Linked DNA regions of Homo sapiens: region 2 is linked to region 1. Evidence: promoter capture Hi-C in human tissues and cell types (Jung and others, 2019). All regions are on one chromosome and are shown on one strand. Each heading gives the region's core, a stretch centred on a gene start or on the middle of the fragment in contact. The rest is flanking DNA. Distances are from core to core; before and after follow the strand shown.

Evidence for each region. The method cuts DNA at HindIII sites, captures the fragments that hold promoters and counts their contacts. A contact is called where the count stands out against the background at its distance.
Region 2: a contact is called between a fragment that was not itself captured here and the fragment with the promoter of TMEM39B in region 1, in 1 of the 25 tissues and cell types used here (spleen).

The regions. Positions count from the first base shown.
Region 1 is chr1:32,070,454-32,076,825 of GRCh38, reverse strand. It overlaps TMEM39B (transmembrane protein 39B), which reads right to left and starts at 3,887. Exons shown (of 9, transcript NM_018056.4): 1 at 3,775-3,887; 2 at 1,749-1,875; 3 at 1,004-1,223; 4 at 1-63. The coding sequence starts at 3,778. RefSeq lists an enhancer at 3,883-4,488. The HindIII fragment of the contact is 13,852 bases long and covers 1-6,372 here.
Region 2 is chr1:32,199,140-32,206,270 of GRCh38, reverse strand. It overlaps CCDC28B (coiled-coil domain containing 28B), which reads right to left and starts at 5,676. Exons shown (of 6, transcript NM_024296.5): 1 at 5,562-5,676; 2 at 4,172-4,358; 3 at 2,226-2,392; 4 at 1,892-2,085; 5 at 1,651-1,673; 6 at 884-1,077. The coding sequence starts at 4,335. The coding sequence ends at 1,023. It overlaps IQCC (IQ motif containing C), which reads right to left and starts at 600. Exons shown (of 5, transcript NM_018134.3): 1 at 548-600; 2 at 1-117. The coding sequence starts at 589. RefSeq lists enhancers at 443-662, 1,112-1,613, 4,299-4,348, 4,310-4,830, 4,699-4,918 and 4 more. The HindIII fragment of the contact is 5,077 bases long and covers 648-5,724 here.

The sequences.
Region 1 (6,372 bases), core at 2,638-5,137:
GAAGCGGCGGCCCAGAACGATGGTGGTCACCATCAGCAAGTTGAAGTCGATCAGATGGAAGTTCTGTCAGGGGGCAGAGGCCTGGGGGTCATGTGGGCCCCTTGCCCATATGCAGGCTTTTTTCATACCCACCTCCCGCTGCCCATTTCTTTCCACAGAGACTGTCCTCATTCTCTGACCTTCATCGGCCTCCAGCTGAGTCAGGCCAGGAAATTACCTACAGGAGTAGGACAGGACCCCGAGAAGGGAAGTGGGACAGTCCCTGGGGATAAGAGAGTGGTATGTGAGCCCTCTTGCTCTGCTCACACATGCCCCTGTCCCTATACTGTGTCTGCACTGAAGTCTTTCCTCCCCTTGAAGCACTCATGTATCCCTGTGGTTCATCTCCACTACTGGATTAAGACTCTCAGCTCCTGGCCGGGCGCGGTGGCTCACGCCTGTAATCCCAGCACTTTGGGAGGCTGAGGCGAGTGGATCATTTGAGGTCAGGAGTTCGAGACTAGCCTGACCAACATGGTGAAACCCTGTCTCCACTAAAAATACAAAATTAGCCGGACATGGCGGCACACACCTGTAATCCCAGCTACTCGGGAGACTGAGGCAGGAGAATCGCTTGAAACTGGAAGGCGGAGGTTGCAGTGAGCTAAGATTGCGCCATTCCACTCCAGCCTGGGCAACAACAGCGAAACTCCGTCTCAAAAAAAAAAAAAAAAAAAAAAAAAGAAGAAAAGAAAAGAAAAGGACTCTGAGCTCCTTTAGGCAAAATCTTTGTCAGATTCATCTCCCATACACTTACAGTGCCCAATGTGCTACTAAACACACTAGGAGTATTCAGTGAATCATCAGTTTCCTGTTCCTTCAGCACCTTCCATGTTCAGCATGGAGCCAAGTGCACAGTGGTGCTTAGTAGGATATGCTAAACTGAAACCAAAAGAAACACACACACACATACACACACACGCACACACACACACACACACACACACCCTTGTTGGGTACCTACCAGGGAGGTGTGGGAGGGTGGGTGGGAAGGTGGATACCACCACACTGTCTTGTAGATGTTGATGTAGTGGACGAAGAGTGCTATGAGCTGGCAGAAGAAGAGCTGCAACTCAAACAGAATGCTGGCCTGGACTGGCAGCTCGGGGATCTTGCAGTGCTGTAGAGGCACAACAGTTTGGGTGGCCAGAGGAGGGCTGGAGAGGCCTGTTCCAGAACTGCTCCTGACAGTGGGGAGGGAACAACATCAGCAGCTGACCTGAGAATCCTACCAGGAAGGGCTTCTGAGGCAAAGGATTGTGGGATAAGATCAGAAAAGCAGCTCATAGCAAGGACGGGGTCTTCCTAATCCTGCTTGTCAGACAAAGGAACCCGACAAAGCCTTTTCCTATCCCTAATCTTATTCAGGTCTTCCAACACCCCCTAGGAGAGAAAGAATTATTAGGTCCATCTTACAGATGAGGAAAAGGAGGCCCAGAGAAGGGAGGCAACTTGTCCAAGCCATCAGCAAATCTGGAGCAGAACTGTAATTAGAATCCAGGCCTTTGGATTTATTCTACCATGTCCCACTGCATCTGTCCAAGTGATCACCCTCAACTGAGCTCCCTCTGGATCTTTTCTGCTGCTTACTCCCCTCTAAGCCCCCACTGGCATCTAGGATTTCACATCTTAGAATCCAGTCAGAGAGAGCCCTGTCCACATCGTCCCTGTGAGGCCACAGTGAGGGGTGAGACAGAGAGGTGGTTTACCTGGTGCGGGAACGAACACTGGTCACCGATGCACTGGAAGTGTGGCTTCCACTAGAGCCCCCCGAGGATCCCGGCTCACAGAGCGGATTTCGACAGTAAGATGTCCTGTTGGGACCTCTTCGTCCTCCTGTGGGGCTCAACATAAAATAGAGCCTCAAGCCAGGGGGCATATATCAAGGATAACAGCAATGATACCAGCTGCCAGTCACCTAGTATCTCACTTTATCATTTAATCCTCACTGAGACCTATGATCTGGCCCCTTCTTACATCTTCAGCTTCATCCCCTATCATTCTCTACCTCACACCCACCCTCTACCACCCGCCCCATGCTCTAAACATCTTGATCTTTCTTTCCTCAGCAAGCCAAGCTCATTGCTACCTCTAGCACTTATAATATCCTATCTGGAAAGCCTTTCCCGGACTGCCATTTCTGAAGTTTTGAAGTAACTCCCCATCACTCTCTCTCCAATTTCTATTCTTTTTTTCCACCAGAATTCACTCTCTGAAATTATCTTACTCATTTGTTAATATGCTTATTGCTTGTCTGTCCTATTACAATGAAAGGTCAATGAGGTCAGTTACCTTATCTTTTTCACTGCTATATCCCCTACCTCAGTGCCCAGCAAGTATATGTTGATGAGTGAATGAACCCAGCAAGGTAGGTTTTTCACACATTAGGAAACTCAGCTTACACTATGTCACAGTATCGTGGCTGGGTCGTGTGCTCTCAACTCTGGTACACATTGGGCCCCATTCAGACATAAGTTTCTGGAGGCCTATAACTCTGGGTAACTTTGGGACAGCTTTTTCATCCAGGGCCCCATGATTCAGCTCAAAGGGCATTCTGGGATCTCATGGGCAGGACCCAGGGCCTAAATAAAGGGTCAAGGATATGGCTGGGAGAATCCTGTGGCTGTGGACTGAAAAATTGGACCTACTAGGCTGAGCAGTCTAGCCCAAGCTCCCACGCACCACTTCGCACAAAAGTTCTGCACAAAGCTCCTAAGCACCTAAAAAAGTCACAACCTGACTGGGTGTGGTGGCTCACGACTGTAATCTCAGCAATTTGTGAGGCCGAGGCGGGAGGATCGCTTGAGACCAGGAGTTGGAGACCAGCCTGGGCAACATGGCGAAACCCGGTCTCTATTAAAAAATATATATACATACATATACATATTTTTAAAAAGTTATAACCTGTTCATACCTCTTCACAGTAACACAGCAGCCTCCATTCACATACACCCCACGCCGTAGCATCTCAGCTCGGAAGCGTTTCCCACACTTCGGAGCCAATTTTGGGCTTGGATGTATGCCCAAAATTATAAACCTCCACAAGTCTCTAAAAAGTACCTGGCGAAGAGCTCTGCCCTCCATAAACCCCCAGACCAGAAGCTCTGTTCATACGCTGTTATACTTGGCTTAGAAAATCCCACACAAACACCCTTAGTCCAGTCCAGAAGCTCTGCCCACACCCACTCTCCTCTCTTTAGAAGCTCTGCACCCACATAAAGCCCCTCAGCCCAGAAGCTCCGCCTACACACAACTGTCAGCCCAGAAACCCCGCCCACAAGCCAATAAAAGCCCTCTCAGCCCAGAAGCCCCACTCCAGAATGGGCTCCCTCAGTCGGAAGTCTCCCCGCTCCACCGCCCCCAGTGTAACCCCTCCAACCCAGAAACGCCGACTGCACTAGCGCCCCCTGCCCAGAATCTCCACCCTTAGCGCTGAAGCCACGCCCACTGGTAAGTCCCGCCCCCCTTTCTAGCCCCGACGAGCTGGTCCTCACGAAAGCCCAAGCCCCCACAGGGCTTCGTCTTAGAAGCCCCGCCCACCGTCCAATGTCCCGCCCCCACAACAGAGGCCCCACCCCGCAAAACGACAGGAGGGGGCGGGATCCCGTCTGCGCTCGCATCCCCTCCCCCTCCCGTCACCGGGCTCCTGTCCGCGTGGAGCAGCAATTAGCAGCCTGGCCATCCTAACCCGTGCGCCCGCTCGTTGCCAGGCCGAGCCTGAGCCGCTCTGCTCACCCATCTCCTCCCCCCGGTGCTCTCCGCTTCGCCGCCGCAGCTCCTGCGGGCAATATGTCGGAGGCGACGGCGGCCGGGAGAGGACTAACCGCCGCAGCCCAGTCCCGGGTATCAGCCGCGCGCTCCCGCCGCGCCGCTACATTTGCATACAAGGCGGGCTGGAAGCTGGCGCGCGCTTCTTAAAGGGGCCGCCCGGACGGAGGCGGTGCCTGCGCGCTCTTTGTCTCTCGGTCCCCCACGCCCTTCCTGCAGCTGCTGGTGAAGAGACTCAAGAGGGAGGGGAACGGAACCCACCTCCTGCTCTTCCCGTGCGTGTCTTCTCTCAGCATCTCCTGGACCGGGGCGGCGGCGACCGGAGGAGGGTGCGGAGCCGCCTCTCCGCTCCCCTAGGGGTGGACCATATCCCTGACCGGTCCGCAGGCACCTCCAGCCCAGCCCCACGTTGCGCTTCATCCTTCTCTTAGGCCTCACTGCGCTTTAGTCCACCCCAGTCAAAATCCAGGAGTCATTTCCTCCCTCCCTCGGCCCCCACATCCGATCTTTGCCTTAGTCTTTGTGAGCCTAAGTCCTAAATATTTCTCACATTTGACGTTACTCACCGTTCTCATTGTCAACACCGTGGTTCAGATCCTGACTGCCATTTCCCAGCCTTGCAATCTTGTTTTTTTATGCTTTACGATGAGGCTGCTGATGGTCACCGTGTAGGTTTCGGTGAGGGTTAAATGAAATAGAGCATGCAGAACTGAGTCTGTTTTAGTATTAGCCATCACGATGTTTGGAGAAGCATTGACTAAATGAGCTACATTTATTGTCATTAGGATTCTTCCCTCACAAGACCTACAAGCAGTTTTAGTCATCTTGTAGCTCCATTGCTTAGCACAGTGCTTGGCACTTAATAGCAGTATTCAATTAATTGAATGAATTAGTAGATATTTCATTAATAGTCATAGAGCTTACAGTCAAGTGGGAGGAGATAGACATGAACAAAATTGGTAAATTCTGTAGTATGTTAGATGGGAATGGTGTGAAGGAAAAACAGGAAAGGGGGATGGGGTTGCAGTTTTAAATAGGGCAGGCAGAGCAGGCTTCAGAGTTGACTTGAGTAAACACATGAAGGAAATGAGTGAGTCAGTGGTGCAGATTTCTGGAGAAAGGGGGCATTTCAGGCAGAGGGAATAGTTAGTGCAAGGTCCCTCAGGCAGGAGGGTGTATTTATTTTATTATTTTGTTTTTTGAGGGGATGGAGTCTCTGTTGCCCAGGCTGGAGAGCAGTGGCTCGATCTCGGCTCACTGCAACCTCCACCTGCTGGGTGCAAGCGATTCTCCTGCCTCAGCCTCCCAACAAGCTGAAATTACAGGCGTGCACCACCATGCCCGGCTAATTTTTGTTTTTGTTTTGTTTTGTTTTTTTGAGACTGGAGTCTCCCTTTCTGTTGCCCAGGCTGGAGTGCAGTGGTACGATCTCGGCTCACTGCAACCTCCGCTTCCCGGGTTCAAGCGATTCTCCTGTCTCAGCCTCCCAAGTAGCTGGGATTACAGGCACCCGCCAGCATGCCCGGCTAATTTTTCCATTTTTAGGAGAGGCGGGGTTTCACCATGTTGGCCAGGCTGGTCTCAAACTCCTGACCTCAAATCATCCACCCACCTCGACCTCCCAAAATGCTGGGATTACAGGTGTGCACCACCACGCCTGGTCTAATTTTTGTTTTTTTGTTTGTTTGTTTTTTTGAGACGGAGTCTCACTCTGTCCCCAGGCTGGAGTGCAGTGGTGTGATCTCGGGTCACTGCAACCTCCACCTCCCGGTTTCAAGTGATTCTCCTGCGTCAGCCTCCCAAGTAGCTGGGACTACAGGTGTGTGCCACCACACTTTGCTAATTTTTTGTATTTTTAGTAGAGATGGGGTTTCACCATGTTAGCCAGAATGGTCTCAATCTCCTGACCTCATGATCCGCCTGCCTTGGCCTCCCAAAGTGCTGGGATTACAGGCACGTGCCACCACCACCGGCTAATTTTTGTACTTTTTAGTAGAGACGGGGTTTTACCTTGTTGGCCAAGCTGATCTTGAACTCCTGACCTCAAGTGACCTGCCAGTCTCGGTCTCCCAAAGTGCTGGGATTACAGGCGTGAGACACCACGCCCAGCCAAGAGGGTGTGTTTGAGAAATAAGGAGGCAAGTGTGACACAGGTATAGATATAAGAGTAGGACATGAGAAGGGATAGATCATGTAGGGCTGTGTGGCTTTTACTTTGAATGAGATGCAGAGCTATTATAGGGTTTGAACTTCTATTTAAAAGAACTATTCCAGCTGTATGGTGAGAATAGACTGCAGGGGCACCAAGGTGGAAGCAGGGAGACCAGGCAGGAGGCTGTGGCAATGATCTTAGCAAGAGATGTTGATCGTTTGCACCAGGTTGGGTGAGATGGTGAGACATGGTTGAATTCTGGATTTGAAGGTAAAGTCTACAGGATCTGTTGGGCTGACTATGGTGGCTGATGCCTGTAATCCCAGCACTTTGGGAGGCTGAGGTGGAAAGATTGCTTGAGCCCAGGAGTTTGAGACCAGCCTGGGCAACAAAGTGAGACCCTGTCTCTACAA
Region 2 (7,131 bases), core at 1,937-4,436, 130 kb before region 1:
GCGGCCCTCGGTCCACTGAAGCGTGCCCAGGTCGCCCTCGACCTCTCGTACAATCGCCTCATACTCAGCTCGCAGGCTCTGGAACTGGCGTCGGACCAAGAAGCCCCGGACGCAGGCCTGGTATGGAGAACGAGAGGAAAGAAGTCCCTTATCACGGTAAGAGAGGGGGCATCTCGGAGGACTGTCCTGAAGAGGTCGTCCCGGCGAATGCAAGAGGGGACCTGACGGCGGGGAAAGGATAGGTGGGCTGTGCGCTAGGGCTCCGGGGGGCTCGAGGGACGATGCCAGACTGGATGCCCCTCCTCGCCTTAAGGCTCTTCCCGTTTCCCTGATCCGGCGCGAGCGTGTGGTGGGAGTGGGGACGCGCAGGGCAGGGAGTCCGTGGGTCCCAGCTTTCCTCAGCGCGGTTGGGGACAGCCGGTATCTCCAGAGGTTGGCGCGCAGTTAGGGGACTGAACGTGGTAGCATCTCGCTGGGAGGTCCAGGTACGAGACCCCATGATTTCCCTAAAGGAAAAATCCTGTGAACCCCGCGCCCGCCCCCGCACCTGCAATGCAGACACCTTCCGAACCAGCAGCTCTGGCTCCATGGGCGCCAACTGCCAGGCCCGCCCGCGCGCCTGCGAAGTACGTCATTGGTCGGCGTCGCTCCTGAGCATGCGCGGGCGTGGGCTTTGCCCCAGCCGTTCCCACGGCAACCTCCTACCGTCCAGGGTAGAGGCGTCCTGGCGACAGGCGTACCTGCGTCCCCCCAGCCCCCGACTGCCCCTCCCACAGCCGCAAGGGGCACTCCAATCCCGCAGGCGGTACCTCCATAACCGAGGGCTGTCTCCGCGGAGACCGGGAGGAAAGGCGCAAGGAGGGGAAGCAGGACACGGAGCCGCTTGCTTTCTTTCTGGTTTAATTCCATTCAACGCCCCCCTCCCCCATAGCACCTGGGGGGCCGCAGAACACCCGCCCGAGTCTGTAAAAAGTCACAGTTTGAAGAGAATGAGAGGGGCAGTGTGGGCCTGCGTGGGACGCCTACGCAGCGGACTGCTCCTCAGGCTCGGCGTTCTCGGCCAGGTGCAGCTTCTGGCTGTGCCCGTCAAGGATCGTGGCGCTTTGGACCAGTCCTTCCTCCCACCCCGGTCTCCCATCTTGCACAGGTTTAGTTCCCTCACCTGTGCAAAGGGCCGGGGACGAGGGTCTCGGGCCGTCTGTGGACTGAGGTTGCAGTCCCCGCCTGCCCTCTCTCACCCCCTCTCTCTTCATCCAGATCGTGCAGGTCAGACACACTGGGGTGTGTGCGCGCGCACTCGCGCTGTTTCTGACTGAGGACCAGGTGAGGTGGTAGTGTAAATTAGTAAAAATAATTGTTCAATGCTGAAAGGATAGGAGGACATCGGACAAGCTTTGCTATGATTGATGTCAGCTAAAGTACTCACAAAGATTTTGATCAGTAGTAAAACATCCCCTACAACCACTTTTCTTCTAATTTTGGGGAAATTCTAAATTCCTGTACCTGGGTTTGGGCAGTCTGTGGCTAAATCTGACAGGACTGCAAGAGGTGGGGAAGTTGGTTGTGTGTGAATACTCCTGGAGGGCTGGAGAGGAGGAAACTGACCTCTCAGGAACACACACACATAGACGGGTTCCTTGGAAAGGATACATAGAATTACTGAGGTCTTCCAGCTGCCAACAAAGAGAAAAAGGGAGGCTTCTGTTAGGAGGGGAACCAGGCCAAATCCCCAATGCTCTGGGGGCTATCTTCTGGGGAGGTTGAGGGGCCCAGAGCTCTTGGATCCATGCACTCCCACCTTTTCACCCAGGGCCCAGGAATGGCTTTGGGAGTATGTACCTTCTCCACCCCTCATGCCCCCAGGAACCAAAGCACCCAGACATGAACCCACATTGCTAAGCAGCTGGTCCAGGTTACGGTCAGCCATTGTCTTCTTCTGCTCCTCTGGCAGCCCCTCAGTGACCCCATCCTCTTCCTCTTCATCGTCCTCCTCCTCCCCACACACATCCAGGCTGAAGTGCAGCCGGGCTAGCTTCTCCTGCATCTCCCGAACGTGCTCCAGCTGCTCAAAGGAGCATTCCTTCCCTGGAACGAAGCCCCTGTCTGAACCCTGGGAAAGAGTCCTGGAACCCTGGAACCCTGGAACCATGGTCCCAGCCATGCCCCATGGACTGGGCCCTACAGCCCTATCCACACACCCGCTGAAACCAGCCCCCAGGACTCACCGAAGGCCTGCAGCCGGCCAGAGTGGAAATCATTGAGCAGGTTCAGGAGTCCCCCCTCCATCTCATAGACATCAGTCACCTCGGTCAGGAAGGAGTGCTGCAGGGGCGTGCCTGCAGAGCCGCTTCCACCTCCAGCCAGGACTGGGCGGCACTTCTCTTTGCCTACTCTGGGTGGGGTGGACATGACCATGATCACAGGGTAGGGGGCAGTCAGGCACCTCCCGATCTTTTGTGCCATCTGCCTATGCACCAGTTTATCTGTCTATCTGCACTAACTCATCTGCCCATCTACTTACTAGCATAAATGGGTAACTTTATGGTTCCCCTTGGGCACTGGGAAGGGGTGAGGAGGCGTGAAGAGGTCAAAAAGAAGTCTTTTCTGCTAATAACACAGCCAGAGCAGTGCCTGAAAGGGGGTCCCTGGGTTCCTGTCTGAGTGCCTCACTCATTTGTTTTATGACCCTGAATGAGTCACTTATCCTCCCTAGTCTTCAGCGTATATAGAGACAGCTACTCCCTTATTGCCACCAGGGCTGTCTTACCTCCTCCCAAAATATCTTTCTGCCCCTCTTCTTTTTTTTTGTTTTTTGAGACAGAGTCTCGCTCTGTTGCCCAGGCTGGAGTGCAGTGGTGTGATCTCGGCTCACTGCAACCTCGCCTCCTGGGTTCAAGTGATTCTCTTGCCTCAGCCTCCCAAGTTGCTGGCATTATGGGCGCCTGCCACTATGCCCTGCTAATTTTTTTTACTTTTAGTAGAGTTGGGGTTTCACCGTGTTGGCCAGGCTGGTCTTGAACTCCTGACCTCAGGTCATCTGCCTGTCTTGGCCTTCCACAGTGCTAGGATTACAGGCCTGAGCCACTGCCCCTAGCCCTCTTCTTTTTTTTTAATTAAAAAAAAAATTTTTTTTTTGTTTGAGACAGAGTCTCACTGTCACACAGGCTGGAGTGCAGTGGCACAATCTCGGTTCACTGCAACCTCTGCCTTCCAGGTTCAAGTGATTCTTGTGCCTCAGCCTCCCAAGTTGCTGGGATTATAGGCACCCACCATCACGCCTGGCTAACTTTTGTATTTTTAACAGAGATGAGGTTTCACCATGTTGACCAAGCTGGTCTCAAACTTCTGACCTCAGGTGATCTGCCTGCCTCAGCGTCCCCAAGTGCTGGGATTATAGGCTGAGCCACCATGCCCAGCCAACCCTCTTCTATTTAAAAACTCTTTTAAACAAAAACAAAAATACATAGAAAACAAAGCCAAACCAATAAACCAAAAAAACTGTCTTAAAATTTCCACTGCTCTCAGGATAAAATTGAATGCCCCTGCCAGCCTGGCCCTCCTGCCTTCCCAGTTGCCTTTCCTGCTACTCTCCCCACAGCCTTGAGCTTCATGCCCCTTAGGCAAGTGGTGTGCAAAACCAGGGGGAAACACAGTGGTCTTATCTGGAGCAACTGGAGAAAGAATACATTGTATTTAGTGGGGAACAAACATGGACACATTATAAGGCAGCATGCAAACTCCCAATCATAAAAAAAATTCAACAGAGAATTCAAATTGTGCCCCCAGGTATTTCCTCACCATTTCCTGTTCCCTGATACTCCAGGGCCCCCAAACCACCTGTGGTTCCTGAAACCTTTCAGGTAATAGCTTTCTTCCATATTTATACCAGGTAAGCCTCTCAGCGTGGAACATTCACTTTCTTGCAGAGTTGCTCACTCCCTCCTCTGAGGCGAATCCTCACGCTATGTGATCCCAGTGACCCACCTGGCCTTTTTGCCACACAGTTGAGGGTAGGGACTGGGTCTGAGTGAGCTCTGAGTTCTCAGGGGTCTGCTCCAGAAAGGCATCAATTATTGCTTAGGAACTAAAGGCGGAGGCCCCCCTTGCCTTCCTCTCTACAGTGCAACCCAGAGTTGGGGTCCCTCCTCCTTTCCTTCCCTTCTGTACCCACCTCTTGAACTTGGCCCGCTGCTTGGGGGATGGCAGATGAGGAAGTCCTAGGGCCAAGGAGCCGCTGTGGCTGGTAGGCACAGGGACCCTCCGTAGTGTGCCTGGGGCCTGGGCTGGCTGGGCCAGGCAGGGCTTGGGACTCCGTTTCTTCTTTTTGTCATCCATTGGGCGCTGGCTGGGCCTCAGGCCTAGGAGGGAAGCAACCCCACAAAGATAGCCAGGGGCAAAGTTAGCCCTTCACCCAGAAATCCCTGAGAGCTGCACCAAGGAAGGGCCCTGGGACCTTCCAGCTTGTCACCTCATCTATACGGTAGGGGCAGAGCCAGATGCCAGTGTCTGCTGCTGGGATCGTGGATGTACACTTGAAGGACCTTCTAAGGCCCAACCTAATTCCCCTTCTGCCTGAAAACCTAGGCCCCTCCTGAAAGGGTGGGACCAGTCACAACTATCTTGGCGCTACTGGGGCTTCCTGTCACGGTGGCTGGGGGGCGGGGCTGGCAGAGGAAATGTAGTGGGAGACAAGACGGAGGTGAGCTGCAGAAGCCCAGCCGAAGATTAGGGATGTCTTAACTAAACCCTATTCTATTTATCAGGGGCCTAAGCAGATGCTAACAAACCCTGTCAGCATGGGAGGGGGACAAGGTGCAGGTAGGGGCGCCTGGGAAAGCCCCAGCGTGTGGGTAATTGTAGGAGAAGCCGCAGCATACAGGGCAGGGTTCATTGTGGGTTTCCCCCACATAGACACCGGCATCCCTCCACTTCCACCCACCCCCAACCGAAAATATTAGGGACTCCCTATAGGTCCCGCGGGTGTGCTTTCAGCTGCTTCATTTTTCCCAGTCGGAAAGTCCCTGCTGGGCTTCAGCTGCAGCCAGGGTGGACTGGGTGGTTGGCCGCTGGCTGCCTGGGCCTCCGACAAAGGCTGCGCCTGTGGCTGGGCTGCTCCGAGGTCCCCGGTCCAGCAGCGCCCCCCAAGCCTCCGGTCGGCTGGGGTTCCCTCCTCTGGGGGTCTCATTCCAGGCTGCTGCTACCGAGCCTAACTTCGAATTCTGGGACTGGGGGGGTTGGGGGGGTGGGTGGCGCTTAAGCATTTACACTGACACATAGCTGGCTGCCACTGACGGGGTCTGCGGGTGTGGGGAGGGGAGATAGGAGCGCATCCTCTGCCTCTCCGTGCAGCAGCTTGACCCAATTAGGGACCTGATAGAAGAACTGGAGCCGGAGCCTGTGCTCCCCAGGAGCGGCTGGGGCGACCGGGGATCTATTTCCCAAGCCCGGGCTCCAAAGCCATGTGCCAAACTCATCGCTCAGCTCCGCAGCCGCGCTCGAAGACAGAGCGTCAGACCCGCGTCATTCCGCCCCCGCCCTCACTCCCTCAGGGGGCTACTGACCTGGAGGTTTGGGGTCTCGAGTGATGCTTCGGTGCAAGTTCCCTCCGCCCTCCGCCCTCTCCTCCCGGGAACACCACCGGGTGAAAGCTAAGCTGGAGGGAGTTCATTTGCATTTAAAGAGAAAGTGACCTTCTCCTTAGCGCGGTGGGGTGAGATGGGAGGAGCATCCCCGCGTATGCTAAGCAGTTCCTCTCACTCGACCTCACCTCCCCGCCTGAACCTAGGGGACCCTGTTGGTTGTGTGATGTCTATTTTAAAAAGATTTTCCCTTTCCCGGCAGTTTCAGAGAGAAGCTACAGTTCCTTACAAAATGGTGGTGGCTTTGTCAGAAAGGGGGTGGGGCGGGGGAGAGGAGAGACAGAGTGAGTGAGTGAGAGAGAGAGAATGTAAGCACAGAAGAAGCACAAGCAGCAACAGCAGCAGCATCAGGAAGACACTTCGAGCAAAGACAGCCATCAATGGAGTGAGTCCAGTGCCCTATTGAGCACTTTACATACATTTCATCCCCATAACAACCCTTAAGGAAGATACCAGTGTCATTCCCCATTCTACTGAAAGTAAGCAACAGTCTTTTGAGGGCAAAACCCCTCTCTCTACAATGCCAGACAGTTTTCTCTGGTAAGTGGTGGGGGCTGTATTTTGCCGCAGATGAAGTGACAGGAGTCCTCCCCACCCCCCAGGCCTAGGAGACAGGTGTGGGGAGCACCAGGTCATAAGGTAGACCACGCGATTCCCTGGCACCTGACTCCAGTCCTCAGGGAAACCTGAGCACCTGATGGAGGCTGACCCAGTGTGACTGCTGCTGCCTGCAGCCAGATCAATGGGGGCAGCTATTTAAAGCCCTGGCAGAGGCTCCTGGCGCAGGTCCCCAGAACAGCATCTGATACAACAGGAGAGAGGCTCATGTTTGGCCAGGCGGCTCAGCAGGCTCAAGTGAGCTGGCCCAGGGCAGTGCACACAGCCACCCAGCCCACCTTCCCCATCCCCGGGCAGGAGTGGCTTCCTGGGGTTGGGCCTCTTGGCTGATGTGGGGAGCCATGGGCACTGCTCCTGAGGGCACCTGCTCAGGGCTTCTTCCTGGGTACTTCCAACACTCAGAACACTCCACAAGGGTAAAGAGTAATTCCGAACTTTTTCAATAACCAGGGGCCCAGACTGGGGACAACAGAAATCCCTCTCCTTCCCCACCGGAGCTGCTAGAGTAGACAGTGGTAATGCTGCTGACAGAGGGAGCACCCCTGTGGTTCCCATCCTCAGCTGCTTCACTGGGGGGTCAGAAACCTCATTATTCTCAGAGCTGCTTTGCTTGGAATCTCCAAGAGTTGGGGCGGCACCCCCCCCACACCCTCCAGAGGATCTGCGACTAGAAATAACATGGCCAGCATGGAAAACATGTATCAGGACCCAGCTAGAAGGGTCAGAGGCTCTGCTGGGACTGTCACAGTCATTGTGGGCACATCTATTTGTGGAGGCCTGGAGGGAAGGGCAGGTGGGTTGTCTCTGCCATTTCCTGGGCATTCAGCACATATCATCCTTTGTGCCTGACCAACCCAGGACCCAGAGAGAACAG